2 separate regions of the Homo sapiens genome follow, and region 2 is linked to region 1. Evidence: promoter capture Hi-C in 16 types of primary human blood cells and fetal thymus (Javierre and others, 2016). All regions are on one chromosome and are shown on one strand. The core of a region is centred on a gene start or on the middle of the fragment in contact, and the rest is flanking DNA. Distances in the headings are between cores, read along the strand shown. Region 1 holds the start of NEURL1-AS1 (NEURL1 antisense RNA 1). Region 2 overlaps PDCD11 (programmed cell death 11).

The links. The method cuts DNA at HindIII sites, captures the fragments that hold promoters and counts their contacts. A CHiCAGO score of 5 or more calls a contact.
Region 2: a fragment that was not itself captured here is called in contact with the fragment with the promoter of NEURL1-AS1 in region 1 in 3 of 17 cell types (M1 macrophages, M0 macrophages and megakaryocytes); the score reaches 6.1 in M1 macrophages.

The regions. Positions count from the first base shown.
Region 1 is chr10:103,515,664-103,519,787 of GRCh38, reverse strand. It overlaps NEURL1-AS1 (NEURL1 antisense RNA 1), which reads left to right and starts at 2,346. Exons shown (of 4, transcript NR_120675.1): 1 at 2,346-2,402. The region is part of intron 1 of NEURL1 (neuralized E3 ubiquitin protein ligase 1); the gene reads right to left. RefSeq lists an enhancer at 4,014-4,124. The HindIII fragment of the contact is 6,397 bases long and covers 1,716-4,124 here.
Region 2 is chr10:103,412,540-103,416,663 of GRCh38, reverse strand. It overlaps PDCD11 (programmed cell death 11), which reads right to left. Exons shown (of 36, transcript NM_014976.2): 9 at 3,342-3,548; 10 at 2,574-2,698; 11 at 2,334-2,394; 12 at 1,513-1,659; 13 at 1-173. Among named protein-coding and RNA genes, the nearest start is that of PDCD11, 18 kb to the right of the region's middle. The HindIII fragment of the contact is 2,714 bases long and covers 1,046-3,759 here.

The sequences.
Region 1 (4,124 bases), core at 1,097-3,596:
AACAACAACAACAACAAAAAACTATTGCTGGTGATGGTAGTAGAGTTTAAAATGGTGACAAAAGTGATGACGATGGTGTAATGTGATGTCCAGGACAGGTGGCCCAAAACAACAGGCTCAAGGGAGATTTGGCATCTTCTGGATAAGCCCTTAAGGGGTTCCTTAATCTCTATGGAGGGAACTAGACCCGACCAGCCCTCAGATGCATACGATGTGGAGCCCAGGCACTGACTCCCAGGGACTTGCACCAAGGCAGGTGAGCCCAGGACTCCACTGTGGTTATATTATGCACTTCTGGATACCTAGCCCTGCCTGGGCACTGAGGGGAAGAATATGAGAAGGAAACAAAATTTAACCTTTTCTAGACATAGGCACAACCACTGGCAATCACGTATCAATTATCTCATTTATTCCTTGATACCACTGGTCAAAGCAGCAAGACGACTCTGCTGACCATACTCTCTTTTGGGAGGGGACAGGGCTATAAAAGTTCATTTTTTAAAAAAGTGTTTTTTTCTTTCTTTCTTTCTTTCTTTTTTTTGAGACAGAGTCTTGCTCTGTTGCCTAGGCTGGAGTGTGATGGCACGATCTCGGCTCACTGCAACCTCCATCTTCCAGGTTCAAGCAATTCTCCTGCCTTAGCCTCCCGAGTAGCTGGGATTACAGGCACCCGCCACCATGCCCAGCTAATTTTTTTGTGTTTTTAGTAGAGACAGGGTTTCACCATGTTGCCCAGGCTGATTTTGAACTTCTAACCTCAAGCGATCCACCCGCCTCAGCCTCCCAAAGTGCTGGGATTATAGGCATGAGACACTGCGCCTATAAAAGTTTAAACTGTAAAAGCAATATGTGCTTATTGTTAAAAATAAATAAATATAACAGTACTGATTTGTGTGGAGTAAAAGCATCCCGTTCCCCAACACTACTCAACCCCAGCCAATTCTCCAGAGGTAGCCCCTGGTAACAGTTGGGTGGGTATCCACTCAGCCTTGGTCTGTGTGTGTACAAACAAACAAAGTAAATATGTCTGAGTGATAACTAGATGCACAGGTAGATATCAAGGTATGGAACCACAGAATAGAGTTGTTCCCCAAGATACCTGCACTGCTCACTCCCTCACCTCCTGCAAATGCCATCAGGTCTTCTCTGGCCCAACCTATTCAAAGTGCTGTTCCCCAGACCCCCCAACTCATAATCCCTGTATCTGCCTCACTCATGGTTTCTTTCTCTCCAGGGCATTTTTCATCATCTGACATCCATATGTCATGTTTTTGGGTTTTAAAAATCTGTCTCTCTTCATAAGAATATAATTCCATGAGACAGAGGACTTGTTCCCTGCTGTATCCTAGTACTTAGAACAGTGCCTGGCACACAGTAGGCATTGACTAAATACTGGTTGAAAGAAAGGAATGAAAGAAAAGAGGGAGAGAGAGGGAGGGAAGGGAAGGGAGAGGAAGAGGGGGAAGGAAAAATGTAGCACTCTAAATGCAAACAGGCCCATACTATACATATTACACAATTTGCTCTTTTAATAATATAGTAGACTTTTTTTTTAAATCATGGTACCTCATTAATGTGTAAAGCTGCAAGGTATTCCTGTGAATAGACGTCATCATTTACTTAACCCACTGCTTCCTTCCTGAAACTGTGTGGGCAGTAAGTGGAGAAAGGGGCAAAATAAGGTACTCCCAGTCCATGGCTCTTGGCAATAAGCTTTCCCAAATTTCAGTCTAGGAAATTGACTGTTCATGGATCAGGGCATGCAAAGTTACCCTCAAGAGACATAAAGGATACCTGGCTGGAGGTGAAGAAAAGATGTGTTCATTGGATGCCAAAGATCGGTGAAAAGGGGATGTCACTGAGGCACACTGCGGTGAGGCCCACGGGAGCAGAGCCAGGGAGATGGTGGCCTGCCAGGCCCAAGTGTTGGGTCCTCCTGGCAGGCATTTCCCTGTTGGTGAAGTGGCCTGGGCAAGGCTCAGAGCCCATAGGCATTGAACTCTCAGACTGTGTTCTCAACTTGCCAGGCCTAGAGCAAGTTCACCCAGCACTCAAAGAGCTGCTGCAGGGGAGAAGGTGCCAGGAAGTCCATCTGACAGAAAATTTCTCTTTGGGAAACAGTACATTGACTTCTGATTTGACTCATGAACCTTTGTGGACTTGATTACAGACAGCCAGGGGCTTCCAGTCCTATCAACTCAGAGGAGACACAGAGGAGATGAAATTTGGGGCCAGCTCAGGCAAAGGCCAGATGTGGGCAGGAGAGGACTCACTACGGAAACCAGCCCCTCAGGCTGACCCACCTAGCTCCTAGCTCACAAAGCCATTGTGTTGAGTAAATGAGGTCAGAGCTGTGGGTCTTGGGGCTCAGGGCCTGGTACACAGTAGGAGGTCATTAAACAGTAGGTATTTCTTGTTTATTATTAGAAGTTTGAAGAAGGTGAGTAATGGTATAGGGCAGGTCACACAATGGTGACTCACACCTGTAATCCCAACACTTTGGGAGGCCAAGGCAGGAGGATCGCTTGAGCCTAGGAGTTCAAGACCAGCCTCAGCAATATAGTGAGACCTCATCTCTACAAAAAGTTTAAAAATCAACTGAGCGTGGTAGCACATGCTGGTAGTCCCAGCTACTCAGGAGGCTGAGGTGGGAGGATCCCTTGAGCCCAGGAGGTGGAGGCTGCAGTAAGACGAGATCACGCCACTGTACTCCAGCCTGGGTGACAGAGTAGGACCCTGTCTCAAAAAAGAAAAAAGAAAAGGGAGGGAGGGAGGGAGGAAGGATGGAGGGAAGGAAGGAAGAAAGGAAGGGAGGGAGGGAGGAAAAGGAAAGGAAATAAATCAGGAAGTGTAAGTATTCCAGGTTTTTCTTCCAAAGAAGGAAGGAAGGAAGGAAGAGAGGGAGGGAGGGAGGGAGGAAGGAAGAAAGGAGAAAGGAGAAAGGAAAGTAAATAAATCAGGAAGTGTAAGTCCTCCAGGTTTTTCTTTCTTCCAGAATCGTACTGGTTATTCCAGGTCCCCTGAGGAGGAATCTACATTTTTCCAAGCTCTCCAGGCAATTCGTAGGCCCTTAGAGAACCACTGCACTGTGCCATATCATACCTCTAAACTCTGCTCCCTTGGCCTCTCTGGCCCTCTGACCTTTCCTGATTCTCCTTGTACCTCTCCCACACCTTCTTCATGGTTTCATTCTGTCCACCCTGTGATATTTCAACCACTCTCATGGTTTAAGTGACACCCACTGCTGACAACTCATTGTGGCCCTGATCTCTCTTCTGAGATTCAAGCTCACACATGGAGTTGCCAACCCAGCGTCTCCCCCAGGATATCTCAGGGCTCTTCTGACACACCCTGGCCAAAACTCAACCTATCATCTTTCCCTCCAACCCCCGCCTTCTGCTTGGGGTCCTGATGGGATCACCATTCTCCCAGTCACCTGAAAACCTGGCACCAGGAATAATCTTGGATTATTCCCTCACTCTCACCGCCTGCATCATTCAGTTATCAGTGCTGCCAAACACAACCTTTTATTTTTTTCTTTTCTTTTTTTTTTTTTTTTTGAGATGGGGTCTCACTCTATCACCCAGGCTGGAGTGCAGTCGTGCAGTCTCAGCTCACTGCAACCTTCACCTCCCAGGCTCAAATGATCCTCCCACCTCAGCCTCCCAAGTAGCTGGGACTACAGGCGCACACCACCACACTCGGCTAATTTTTTATATTTTTGTAGAAATGGTGTTTTGCAATGTTGCTCAGGCTGGTCTCAAACTCCTGGACTCAAGTGATCCACCTGCCTTGGCCTCCCAAAGTGCTGGGATTACAGGCATGAGCCACCGCACTCGGCCAAAGCACACCTCTTAAATATGTTTCAAACGTGTTCCTTCCTCTCTTGGACCACATCTGTAGTTCAGGCTTCAGCATCCCTCCCCTAGACAACTTCACTTCCTTCATAAGTGGTCTTCCAACTTGTCCCTCTTAACTCCATCCTCCACAGGGTAGCCAGCACGATCTTTCCAAAAAGCAAATCTAAAACTTTCAATAGCTCCTACTGCCCAGAGACACCTAGGGTCTGTGTGGACACTAGTTCATTCGTCATCTGGTTTCACTTTCATGGCTGAGCTAAATGT
Region 2 (4,124 bases), core at 1,153-3,652, 100 kb after region 1:
TTGTTGTAGAACTTCACAATGCAGCCATAGTCCTTGACCCTGATGATGAAGCCATGTGTCTGCAGACCAGGCTTGGCATCGGCATAGCAGGTAATGACAGGTAGTTTGGACTCAATCAGGGTTTTTTTCAGGGTCATCATCAGCTTCTTGGCTTCAGGGTCACAAAGCAAAACCTAGGGGAGGGACACAGGCTGTCATCAAGTTATCTGTTATCATGAGAGCCACTGAGCTGGTCTCTGCAACCTCTTAAACCCAAAAGCCACGGGGCCATTCCCCAAGAACCTGCTATAGCTTTTCCTCTAATCATCTCAGTGGCAGATTCTTCCTGCTGTATGACAATCTGGAGCATACAAATCACTATTTCAAATGTAATTCCTCCCATAAATTGCTGCAAACTACCCTCTCCTGACCATGAAGCAACATTAATTATCTTACATCACCTCTATGGAGTCTTGGTTACACTAACTTCTACACCATCTTGGCTCCTTCCTAGTGGGCTTTGCATCTAGTCTAACAGAACCAATGATGAACCAATTTACCACCTTAGTACTGCCGTTTATTAGCTATGAAATAAGATGGAGATGCAACTGTCTTTCACCCCTTCAGAAGGTCATCTCCTTAAAGACAGAAAAAGTATTTTTAACCCTTGATCCCACTACTGTAAAATTTTGCACCAATGGGCAATCATTACCTCTGCTGAGTCAATAACGATGAGATAAACTGAATACCGGAAAATCTAACATGCTGAGTGCCTGCCCGTGGAGCACTCTTGTGTGCATCATCATGTTGGATCTTCACAACCCTATGAAGCTTTCCTTCGGATTCGAGCCTTTGTCATAAATCACCCATGTTTTGGCAGCTTTGCCAGGGCTATTTCTGTGCCTAGAACACAACCTTTGCTCTCCCCAACCTTCCAAATCCTACCTATCCTTTCAAGTTCCACCTCTGCCAGAAATCTAGAAAACATTATTGTCATACAGAGCTGAATTGTTCTGCCATGTATTAGCTGTGTGACTCTGGGCAAGACGGTTGGCTTTCCGAAGCTTTAATTTCCCCACCCGCAAAATGAAGATAATAGTGCTTAATTGTTAGGGTTGTTTCAAGGATTAAATGAAATAATGCTTGTCACATGCCTAGCATAGAAACTGGCACGGAATACCTGTTCGTGGCAGTCCTGTTCGTGGCAGTCGCTACTGATAACGTCAACAATTCTGGCTGCTCCAGCCCACCCTCACCTCCCCTTTCTCAGGTGTGACCACAGCACACAACCTGCACCAAGCCACATGGCAAAAGATCACAGGCTGGCTTGCTCTCTCATCACGTATGAATATTTTAACTCCCAATTATACTACACAAAACGGGGACTCACTTTTCTCTTCCCAATGCCAGGTACAGCACAAGACACACTACAGACATTACACACTCACTTTGTGGAAAAAGGCAGAAACTTCAGTTGAGAACTGCTTTCTTCCCATCTAGCCAAAACCCCAAGAGACCCTTCAGGAGGCTCACCCGGCACTTGACCTCATCCCCGATGTGGTACTTCTTCTCCGGATTCTTCATCAGGATGTCAGCCAGGTGCATGGGAGGTACCAGGCCCCTCATCTGCTCGCCCACCTTCACCAGCATCCCATATGACTTTATGGTTAGCACTGTGCCCTAGAGAATCCAAAGATAAGCTGCCACAATGTCTCAAGAATGGCCTTTCCCCCACCTCTTACAACAAGGCATGTCATACCTCCCCTTCACAGCCAACTTCCTGGGCTAACTGTGCCTGTTATTCCAGATGGCACATGGGTGAAGCACACACCCCACACTGAGCTGGATTATTCTGTCAGCTTTATTTATGGGAGCCTTCACATCTTTCTGTGTGAGCATGTGCTTTCTGTGTGCCTTAAAATACATTCCCCAAAGGAAGGGACTATGTCAAGGTCTCCTAAGGAATAAACTCTACATATAAAGGGAGCTGCTCGATTAGAGCCAAATGGTCGGACAGGACAGGTACCTGGAACTGGCTTCTCACTAATATCCCAGGTAGATCAATAATCACAGGACTAACTTTTGATCAGGTCTACTAACCACCATCAAATCCCAAATCTCAGGATTTATGATCTACTGCCTTTGTGTAGCTGGGTGGTGCTAGTAAGATCTTACCTTGAAATTAACTATGAGTTACCCAAAGAAAGAGAAAGAAATTCTAGTCAGCAGGCAGAAGCAAGGAACATGACATTCAATGTGTTAACATGAGGACTAACGGGCTGACAGTCACCTGTGCGTGAACTAAAGAACGCCTGATGGTGAGGCAGTACCTAATTATATGCTTGAGGTCTTACCTTTACCACTGCCCCAGGTTCGATGTCATGATATCTAAGGTACTGAGCTTCAATAATAGACCTAGGACAAGGAGAAAACACAGAATTAAATAAACTAGGGCAGAGGTTGCCTAAAATTCAGGGCTACCACAGGCATGCTGGCAAGAAAGAAAACCCTTCCCAAGCACAGCCAGGAGAAATGGAATATGAACATGTACAGGTGCACATCTCTACACCCCTACCTGTTAATGACAGACTTACGTTCGTAGAGAGAGCAAGGCCAGTTCATCCATTTGGCTGTAGTCAATAATTCTACACTTGTGAGTGTTCCCTGGCTTGAAGGCCTCAGGATTGAAGACGTTCTTAGAATCAGAGAGATGGCTGAGCTGCAAAGTACCAAGTGATTGAGGATAAGCCAGGGACAACAGGTCTGAGCCAATGAGACCTTACAGCCCATAGAGAGGACTCAACACTTATCATGTACCATAAAAACAGTACTTTGATTGCCTGGTTAAGTAATTCTTCACACTAAAAAACTGCTCTTTATCATCACAGAATTTCAGCAAGGTCAGGGAAAGTCCAGAACACAGGTCAGTCAACTGTGCCTAGTGCCTGTTTTTGTAAATAGAAGTTGTATTGGAATACAGCCATCTGTTCATTTACGTACTGTCTATGGCTGCTTTCATGCCATAACAGCAGCGTTGAACAATTAGGACAGAGACCACAGGGCCCACAGCCTAAAGTATTTATGACATAGCCCTTTAAGAAAAACTCTGCTGGGCCCTGGTCTGGATCCTAACTCATCCTTATACTTAACTATTAACCAAGTATCAGATATGGCAAGCTGGTTCTAAGGCATCCTAATACAGTCAATAGACATTGTTCTAATCACTATGAACAGGAATTAGAACTACAATATCCAAAAATTTTAAACTAGCATCAAGGAATGAAAGAAGCAGAAATGGCCCCCTGTGCTCCAGAAGTCCTTCCAGTGATAAGATCCCTGACCAAACAAAGAGGCCTCCTTACCCGGGCATAGGCCAGAACCCCATCCTTCAGCCTAAAGGTGGCCCCAGCCTTTTTGAAAAAACCCTGGACAGGAACATCATCCAGCACTGCTCCAAGGTTCTGGCAAGAGAGTCGGGTGAGTGGGCGTCCAGGCTGTAGGAAGATGGGGCGCAGGCTCAGGTGCACAACTCTGGTTCGAGGATGGACGCAAAGGATGCAGGCCCTCACCTAGACAAAAGGAAGGGCAGGGTGAGCAGGAGGAGGCACACAGGAGCACCCTAGAGCAGACCTTCCAGGCATCAAGCCTTTCCACATGCTAACCAGGTATGTGAGTACTCACATCCTTAGTATGTAAGTACTCAAACTGGCTTCCACACTCAAGCAGAATGCAGAAAAATCAAAATGTCCCATAGGGACTATGTATGACTAAATCAAAGCTTACTCAAGCCAGGTATGGGTGGCTCACACTGGTAATCCCAGCACTTTGGGACACCAAGGCAGGTGGATCACTTGAGCTCAGGAGTTAGAGACCAGCCTGCGCACATAGTGAAACCCTGTCTCAACAAAAAATACAAAAATAGGCTGGGGATCATGGCTCACGCCTGTAATCCCAGCACTTTGGGAGTCTGAGGTGGGCAGATCACTTGAGATCAGGAGTCTGAGACAGCCCAGCCAACATGGCGAAACCTCATCTCTAGTTTTAATAAAAAAAAGTTAGGCTGGAAGCAGTGGCTGATGCCTATAATCCCAGCTCTTTGGGAGGCCGAAGCAGGCAGCAGGCAGATCACGAGGTCAGGAGATCAA